Linked DNA regions of Homo sapiens: region 2 is linked to region 1. The links are contacts of gene promoters, found by promoter capture Hi-C in blood cells and fetal thymus (Javierre and others, 2016). All regions are on one chromosome and are shown on one strand. Each heading gives the region's core, a stretch centred on a gene start or on the middle of the fragment in contact. The rest is flanking DNA. Distances are from core to core; before and after follow the strand shown. Region 1 holds the start of APCDD1L (APC down-regulated 1 like). Region 2 overlaps LOC107985410 (a long non-coding RNA gene).

The links. The method cuts DNA at HindIII sites, captures the fragments that hold promoters and counts their contacts. A CHiCAGO score of 5 or more calls a contact.
Region 2: a contact is called between a fragment that was not itself captured here and the fragment with the promoter of APCDD1L in region 1, in 1 of 17 cell types (endothelial precursors). The highest score is 8.3, in endothelial precursors.

The regions. Positions count from the first base shown.
Region 1 is chr20:58,513,570-58,518,061 of GRCh38, forward strand. It overlaps APCDD1L (APC down-regulated 1 like), which reads right to left and starts at 1,830. Exons shown (of 4, transcript NM_153360.3): 1 at 1,090-1,830. The coding sequence starts at 1,138. APCDD1L-DT (APCDD1L divergent transcript) reads left to right here and starts at 1,810. Exons shown (of 7, transcript NR_034147.1): 1 at 1,810-2,171. RefSeq lists an enhancer at 433-1,431. The HindIII fragment of the contact is 14,141 bases long and covers 1-4,492 here.
Region 2 is chr20:58,644,668-58,649,159 of GRCh38, forward strand. It overlaps LOC107985410 (a long non-coding RNA gene), which reads right to left. Exons shown (of 3, transcript XR_005647058.2): 1 at 4,322-4,492. Among named protein-coding and RNA genes, the nearest start is that of STX16-NPEPL1, 4.3 kb to the right of the region's middle. RefSeq lists a silencer at 2,826-3,120 and an enhancer at 3,808-4,345. The HindIII fragment of the contact is 2,566 bases long and covers 790-3,355 here.

The DNA.
Region 1 (4,492 bases), core at 580-3,079:
CTTAGACTTTGCTCCTTGCCTATACATGGAGCAGAGCGTGCTCTGTGGGACCGCGCAGCCCCTCTTCACCCCGGGGTTCTCGGCTGCCATTCCCTGAACATGAGCTCAGTGCCAGGCAGCAAGTGGAGTGATCCTCCTGCACGTGCTCTCGTAATCTTCACAATCATCCCAGACGGAGGAGGGGATTTTGTGAGCCCATTTGACAGGAAAGAAAGTCAAGGCTGAGAGAGCCGATGGCCATGCTTACCCAAAGCCAGACGGGTTGATATGATGTTGATCTGGGCTTCCCAGCCAGGTGGTCTAACTCCAGGGCCAGAATTCTCAGCCATTCATAATGTGAGGGTGCTTGGGGATGAGCCCCCAGCTGGGCACACTTCAACTGTGGTTACTGTCATTTTTGTCAGTGGTGACTGGGCCCCTGTGATGGCACACTCCAGTCAGCTGGCCTTTGTACAGTTTTGTCTACCCTACTCCCCACCCCCACGAAGAGCCACCAGGGAACCCCTTAGTCCTGGAGAAGGCATTGACTACTCTACCAGGGGTTCCTGAAGCCCCTTGGTCCCCTTTGTCAGGCCTGCTGGGCACAACTCGAGCCTGGGGTCACTGCGCGCTCCCTAGCTTCTCCCCGAGTCCTGCTGCAGGAAGAAGCCCCGACCCCGCACAGGTCAGGATTCCGTGGGCAAAAACAACCCCAGTAACCTTGGTCTGAATAGCCGGGCTTGTCCCGCACCATGGGGGTCTCAGTGGGCCTGGGATCCTCCTGCATCTTCTTGGAGGCCCCGGTCCCACTGGGCCCGGCACAAAGGGCAGCTCTGGGTACCTACAGGCCAGGCCCCGACTGGCGCAGAGAGTGCAGCGGCTCTCATATTGCGAGGTGACGCGACTCCCTCCCGCAGGCCCCAGGAAGCTCCTGGAGGCGCGCAGGTGCCGGCCAGGTGAGACTGGAGAAAGGCGCGCAGGGCGCAGCATAGCAGCCGCGTGGGCCGACCCAGGGCCGTAGTCCCCAAGGGCCCTTAGGGGACATTAGACGGCGAGCTCCCTCCCTTCCGAGCTCAGCCAGTTTGCCGGGTGGGGGAGGGTGGCACCTACCTCCCAAAAGCACCAGGACGCAAGCGTAGGGGAGCATGGCTGCGGGCATCCCGTCGGGGCTGGCAGGACCGCCCGCCGGGCGCTGCCACGGTGCGCAAGGGGAGGCGCGGGCGCAGGGCTCTCGGACGGCTGCGGGCGCCGGCGGCCAGGCTGGAGTCCTGCGAAGAAGTTGCGAGGGTCCTGCGCCCCCCTCGGCGCTCACACGCGCTCAGCCTTCCCGGCTGTTGATAGTTGTAAGCGGAGCTGCGCACTCATAGGTCCAACTTGCCAGAAGAGGTGGAGACAGCCCCCGGCGAGGCGCGCACACCCGCGCAGCGCGCACAGCCCCCTGGTGCAGCTCCTGCCATTCAGACCCCCAGCCCTCCCCCAGATGTCCGTCCCCTGGCCGTCGCCTTCCCCAAAGTCTTCGCAGTGGGCAAGGAGGCCTCCCCCAAGCTCTGGTCCCGGCCAAGGCAGAGCGATGCGCTCCTTGCGTCAAAGCGCACCCCTAGCCAGGCCGTTCCCTGGAAGGGCAAGCGGGGCGGGGAGTTCCTCTAAGCCCCGCCAGTCCTGGGACCCCTGAAGTTTCTATTCAGGTCTTCCAGCTACTCCTGGAAAAGTCGCGTCAACTTGGATCCCAGCAAACCCAGAAGCGCAGTGAAAGTGGCCAACCCGGTCGCCTAGAAGCCAGCCCCGGCCTCTGTCTGTAAATGAGGCCGTCACCCGCTCCCCACCACACCCAAACGCATCTAGGCAAAGTGTGGACCCGACCAGGCGGGTTTTCCTCCTTCTCGCAACTCCTCCTCCTGCCCCCCTCCCTCCCAAATCTCATCTGAGTGAGTCAGCTGAGGGTGGCAGCTCAGAAGCGAGGCAGCCGTGAGGCGGAGGACAGGCTGGGGGATCCCAAAGGGTGCGCTCCAGCCCCCAACCCAGGCACTGGGACTCTGGTGGCACCCTGGGTGGCAGGCAAGCCTTGAAATCAAGTGCACGAGCCTTGGAAAGGAGGACCGGGAGAGTTATGGCATTTATGAATGAAGAAGAGAAAGAGAATCACTCGGATGGGAAAAGTTAACTGGATTGTTCCCACCTGCATGGATCACCGGGTAACTGCAGTGGGACCGAGGGGGCGAGGCTGCGGGCTGGGGATGTGCGGGTTTCCTTGTGTTGCCACGAACCCAGAGAGGGAGAGGAAGAAGATGGAAAGAAAAAGGAAAAAGGGAAAGAAAGTAAGAGGGGAGAGAGGGGAAAACTGAGGATGAAGAGAGACAGAGAAGAGAGACCTGAGAGAGGGAGAGAAAGAAAGAGACAGAAAGAGAAATGAAAGTGAGGAAAGGGGAAACAGGCAGAGAAAGAGAGAGAAAGGGGAGGAAAGAGAAAGGGAAAAGAAAGGAGGGAGTGAAATCAACAGAAAAAAGAGAACCAGGAAGGAGGAGGGAGGGGGAGAGAGAAGAGAGAAGAGAGAGAAGAGAGAACAAGAGAGAAGAGAGAAGAAGAGAGAAGACAGAGATGCGGTCTCCCTGGGGAAAGGTTTGGAGAACTGGGCCAGGCCTGTTTCCCGGGACTCACGAGTGAGCAGTCCACCTGCCCCTCTGAAGCATTTTATAGACTCATTTGTCCCACTTTTGTGGGCTGATCATCCCACAGGGGAACAGGGGACACCACCTCACCTTTTGATTTCTTACCAGAAACTTGGGCGAGGCTTCCAGGAGCCACAAGAGCCCTTCAATCCACCCAGGGACCCCCGATGTGGGCCCACCAGCCATCCTTAGCTTTCCTCCTCTCCAGAGGCAACAGGGAATAGGAAAAAGTCCAGAGCAAGGCCACACCATGATCTTAACGCAAATGGAAATGTGAGGAAAACGATCAATTTGCTTCCTGAAAATGACATTTTTTTTTTCTGGTTTCTATGAGACTCGAGGTGGCCTTGCTGAAACTGAAATCGGTATGAGCTTTCCCTGGCAGACAATGGCCATTGTCACATATTAAATTCTCATGAAAGGGATAACTTTGTGGGCAAGAGGAGAGTTGTGCAGGGTGATTATTTATACTTGCATAATTGTGATTATTTGTGGCAATTATGGGTCTTTCAATGTACAAAATTTACAATTATGGGTAGTTTAAAAACTACATGCTAAGGCCGGGTGCCGTGGCACACACCTGTAATCCCAGCTCTTTGGGAGAGCCAGACGGGTGGGTCACCTGAGGTCAGGAGTTTAAGAGCAGCCTGGCCAACATGGTGAAACCCCGGCTCTACTAAAAATACAAAAATTAGCTGGGCGTGGTGGCGGGCGTCAGTAATCCTAGCTACTCCAGAGGCTGAGGCAGGAGAATCACTTGAACCTGGGAGGCGGAGGTTGCAGTGAGCTGAGATCATGCCATTGCACTCCAGCCTGTGTGACAAGAGTGAAACTCCATCTCAAAAAAAAAAAAAAAAAAGTTAAAACTACATGCTATTCTGGCCATAATCATTTGAGACTTCAGTCTCTGGGCTTTCCGGATGTGGGTATTTCAAAGTCCCAGGCGGCTGATGGGGGTTCACGCATTAGTGGCATTTTGTGGGGAGAATGGGTGTTACATTGATGTCCTACATAGGGTCATAATTCAGTATTTTCAGAACTTATTGTACTGCTGTTAGAGATACGAACTTTTCCACAAAGTATGATGCTTGTGTATTAATAGTTGTACTGGCTTATTTATAAATGAGAGGATTTGCTGATAATTATTGAGACTGTGGCATGGGCCAGGCACTAGTTAGGTTGAGTACTTTATATGCATGTACTTTATACCTGAACAAATTGACAAGAAGTGGGAATTACGGTCAGGCCATTTTACAAACTGGGGCAACTGAGTTCAGAGAGTTTGGGCCACTGTCCTGAGGCCAGGCAGCTGGAAGGTGGCAGAACTCCCGGATCCCTGCTTCCAACCACCGCGCTGTGTCTCCAGGACACGTCCTGTCTCACTGGGTTTTCTGCTCCTTTCCAAATCTGAGGACCCCAAAAGAAAAGGCCTGTTTTATAATAACGGCTTCTTTTCGAAGAGGTGTGTGAATAATGGGGGAAACACGACTCCAAAGTACTTTTTCTCTCCAGCCTGGGCAACATGGCAAAACACCATCTCTAGAAAAAATACAAAAATCCTCCAGGTGTAGTGGCACATGCCTGTGGTCCCGGCTACTCGGGAGGCTGACGTGGGAGGATCTCTTGAGCCTGGGTGGTCGAGGCTGCAGTGAGCTATGATTGTGCCACTGCACTCCAGCCTGGGTGACAGAGCAAGACCTTGTCTCAAAAAAAAAAAGTGCTTTTTCTACATCCTAGCTAAACCCCAGCTGTTGAGGCTGAGAGTTACAGGTGGGCCCTGCGCCTGCTGCATCCTCACCCTTGTGATGGGGCGACACTTGGGAGGGTGTGGGCAGCTGTAAAGGGCA
Region 2 (4,492 bases), core at 823-3,322, 130 kb after region 1:
GACCAGCCTGGGCAACATGGTGAAACCCCATCTCTACAAAAAGTATAAAAAATTATGGCTGAGTGTGGTAGCTTATGCCTGTAATCCCAGCACTTTGGGAGGCCAAGGTGGGTTGATTCTTTAAGCCCAGGAATTCGAGACCAGCCTGGACCCCATCTCTACTAAAAATATAAAACTTAGCAGGGTACAGTGGCACATGTCCATGGTCTCAGCTACTTGGGAGGCTGAAGTGGGAGAATCATTTGAGGTTGCAGTGAGCTATGATAGCGCCACTGTACTCTAGCCAGGGTGACAGAGTGAGACCCTGTCTCAAAAAAAAAAAAAAAAGTATAAAAATTAGCCAGGCATGGTGGTACCTGCCTGTAGTCCCAACTACTTGGGAGGCTAAGGTGGGAGAATCACCTGAGTCTGGGAGGTTGAGGCTTCAGCGAGCTGTGATTGTGTCGCCACATTCTAGCTTGGGAGACAGAGTAAGACCCTGGCTCAAAAAAAAAAAAAAAAAAATGAATTCAGGGATAAGGCTATAACTCATGACAGGCCAATGAGAGTCCATTCTAGGACTTTTGAAACCACTGGAAAAGAGAAATTTCAATCTATTGGGGTTGCTGTCCTGTGAGATAACAGGGCAGAGCTTCCAGAGAGCAATCTGCCACCTCCTGGGGTTCACTGGCTTGAGAATGAAACCAGCACAGGGGAAGAAAGAGCTGAGAGATAGAAACTCCTTGTTGATATGTTTCCTCCTCTGGATCCAGCTACGCATAGATGTTTGGGCCAACACATTTGCTTTGAAGCTTAAGTCCATTTGATTTGGGTTCTGTCCCTTGTGACCAAAGGAGTCTTGAGCCATGCATGGCCACATAGCTAATAAGGGGCTGCTGGTTGCACAGGCAGCATCTGGAGAAGGCTGGAGTCCAGCCCTGCACTTGCACATCACACAAATTACCACGAGCAGGTCAGTGGTCATGGCCATGGGAAAAAAAACTAGAAACGAGTGAGTTGGCTATGTTTCAATACCTGCTAGCGGAAAAACACAATGATTTCCTTTATGTTTTTCAGGGTTTGAGTCATCCAGGTCAGTCCTGGCTTGGCACATTAACTTATTGTTCCTGCCAAGGGAGATGGTTAAGATGGGAGGGTTGATTTATTTGAGTACACATGTGTCCACATCATCCTGGAAAAAAAGTAAAATGCAGATATGCTTTGCTGGCATGTGTTGTGACCCAAGAGGCCTCTTCTTGGCCTCAAAGACCAAAAGCCACGATGTTAGACATTGTTTCAGTCTTGAACTTGACCAAGCATGGGCAGGCACCTGGTATGATGGTGACATAAGGGCCCTGGGAGAGGAGAGTCCTCTCCCCACACGGTGGACAGGGTAGGAGGATTACTTTCTATTGAATAGTCTGAGACAAGAGTGGTGAGAAGGAGCCAGTTATTTGAAGAACCTAGGAAGGAGAGCAAAGCAGGTGCTAAGGAGGTGTGAGGAATGGTGGGAAGGCTAGTGTGGCTGAAAAGGGGTGAGCGAGGGGGACAGAGAACTGCCCTAATCTCTCCACCCATTTTGAGTCTTGACTGTCTGGTATTCTCTAGCACTTAATATAGTTAATCTCACCTTTTGTGCATTAATCCATCCAGTCATCCATTCCGCAAACATTTATCACACCTGACAGTGTAGGGGGTGCTGTCTTCAATGAAGGGTTCACCAAGCAGAAGGGGCAAGACACATCCCCCGCCACTACCCCCACCAGGCAGAGAAAGGCCTGTGAGCCAAGTCCTGGAAAGAAAAAAGCTCACCATTTAGGTGGGGCCTGTTGGGCAGGGCTTTGAATGCCCAGGGGGCACTCCGCCATGTGGAAAGTGTAGAAAACCTAAATGCAGAACTCCAGGAAATACTGATCTATGGGAAAAAAATTGTACTGAAATCCATGATTCTGGAATAAATCAGATCTAGTCTTATACTATATTCTAATACAGCCAAGTGGTGGCAGGGACTGAAGGTTTAAGAGAAAGCGAGAAGAGAAACACTTAAGATGGAGACTACTCCATTAATTAGCTTCATTTTTTTTTTTCTGACAACCAAGAAAAGTCCATCATTAGTTAATATTAGTGATGCCCAGCTTGGTTCAACTTAGAGCACCTGTTTTCTGCTGAGCGTCATTTGAGATCGGCTGGCATGGGCCAGAGGGAGCTGTTTCAGGGCCTCAATCAGGCAGTGACATGATCAGATTTATGCTTTGGAAAGGTCACTGTGGCTGCAGGATGAGGAGGGAAGAGACGGGTGGTTGTTAGCAGGCTGCTGGGAAAATGTACACGATGAGAACCAGAATTTGGGTAGAGACAGTGGAGATGCAAATTCCCTGAAGGCAAGAGTTTTGCTGTTTCATTCTTTCAGCAGTGCCTGGCAAGAGATAGGCACAGCCACTGGTAGATTTTTAGAAATGCCTACTGTATTGAATTGTCTGGTATTAAAAGCTACGGGACTCCAGACAAAACAAAAGTGTTGCCTCTCTCCAGAGTCTCCCTTCTTGGGAGAGGCATCATAGCTGAAGACAGACCCAGATAGGGAGTTTTCTGTTGTTGGAAATACTCAAGGTTTTGAGGAACTATTTGGGGACACAGAACACACAACTCCTGTTACCCGAACCTGGCCCGAATCTGTCTGTCAGATCTGTGCAGACGAGACATATGTTAGGCCTGGGGGCTTTTGCTGCTTGATAAGCAAACAACCATCTGTCTTTCTATAGGTGGGAGAAAGACCAATGTTAAAAGGTGTCTTTGAGATGGTTTAGCCCCCTCTTCCACATGAGTGTGCACTGCAGACACATCTGGATTCCCAAGGTCCAGAACAAGAAGCTCGGAAACGTGCTTAGATTTCCAAGTGTTCAGTTCTCAATACCATGCCATTCTCTTTGGAGTTTATGATGCCTTCCAGGGAGAGCAGAGCCCACGTGAGCTTTCCAACAGTAAGACTACTGCTGTAATAAATCATATTGCCCATTTGTGGCGCACTTACTCTATGCTGAGGTTGTATAAGGGCTTACATGAGCCCTATCTCATTTAAATTGTTTTCACCAAAGGGTGTGTGTCCCACTGCTGACCTGTTGAGCTAACCATCCCCTCTCAGTACTTGAAAACCTGCACCTGCCCAAGCCATGGCCTGGCTTCAATGGGGCTTCCTCCTGCACTGAATGAGATGACAAGAAAACAATGAAACACTTGTCCCCAAAAGTGACTTATTGGATTCGTTGGCAGAATGTTAGAAAGTGGGTATGAAGCCCAAGAAACAGGACACGGAGCCTCACCAAGCCCGAGGAGTATTACCGAATCCTAGCCCAGGCCAAGAATGAGTCACAATGAAAGCTTTTAAAATGTAAAACCATCAACCTAGATTTCAATTCCAAGGAAACACATACTTGGCCATGGGGGAATGCTTTAAAAAAAAAAAAAAATCAAGCTTAAGTCACTTGACAGGAAAATAAAACAGCCAAGGAACATTCAAATATAATGATTTACATCCTTCCCCAACTCCCTTCCAGTGTGGGTCAGGGCGAACATGGACCATGGACGTGACTGGAGCCAGGGGTGCATGCCCTCTCTGGGCTCCCTCTTGGTTAACACTATTTCAGGCACACAATCCCATACCTAAACACAGCCTGCTTAGAGCTGCACCGTGCTGCCTTTGGGGCCTGGTCAGAGCTGCACGGTGCTGCCTTTGGGGCCTGGTCAGAGCTGCACGGTGCTGCCTTTGGGGCCTGGTCAGAGCTGCACGGTGCTGCCTTTGGGGCCTGGTCAGAGCTGCACGGTGCTGCCTTTGGGGCCTGGTCAGAGCTGCACGGTGCTGCCTTTGGGGCCTGGTCAGAGCTGCACGGTGCTGCCTTTGGGGCCTGGTCAGAGCTGCACCGTGCTGCCTTTGGGGCCTGGTCAGAGCTGCACGGTGCTGCCTTTGGGGCCTGGTCAGAGCTGCACGGTGCTGCCTTTGGGCTGCTATGCCAACTTCTTGGATTTTCCTGACCTCCCCGCTGTTAGGCTCTTGGGTTGCTTGGGGTGGCTGTTTTGGGAATACCAGGATTTTTCTTCCATTATTTGTGTGCAAGCAGTGTTCATTTCGCTCAAAGAAATGGAAGCTTGATTGATCTCCTAAATGTAAGAATGAGATTGTCCTGTAATAAATATTTAAGACTGACCAGGAAAGGCGACCACCATCTGCTGAAACACAAGACCAGGAATTACTTTGCTAAGCTTCCTGAACGGAGGGAATGAATGAATAACCATCCTATATAATATTTGCTCAGCACCTGGTAGTTTACAAAGAGTTTTCACTTACCTTATTTGATCTTCACAATAACCCCAGAGAAGTAGACAGGGCGCGGATTACGAGGATTACGAAAAACCCACATTTTTTTCTTTTTTTCTTAACAGATAAGGGCTCTAAAGGCTTAAAGTCACTCGAGGGAGGTCAGAGAGTTTGGGGACTAAATCTCGAGTCTCTCATTAA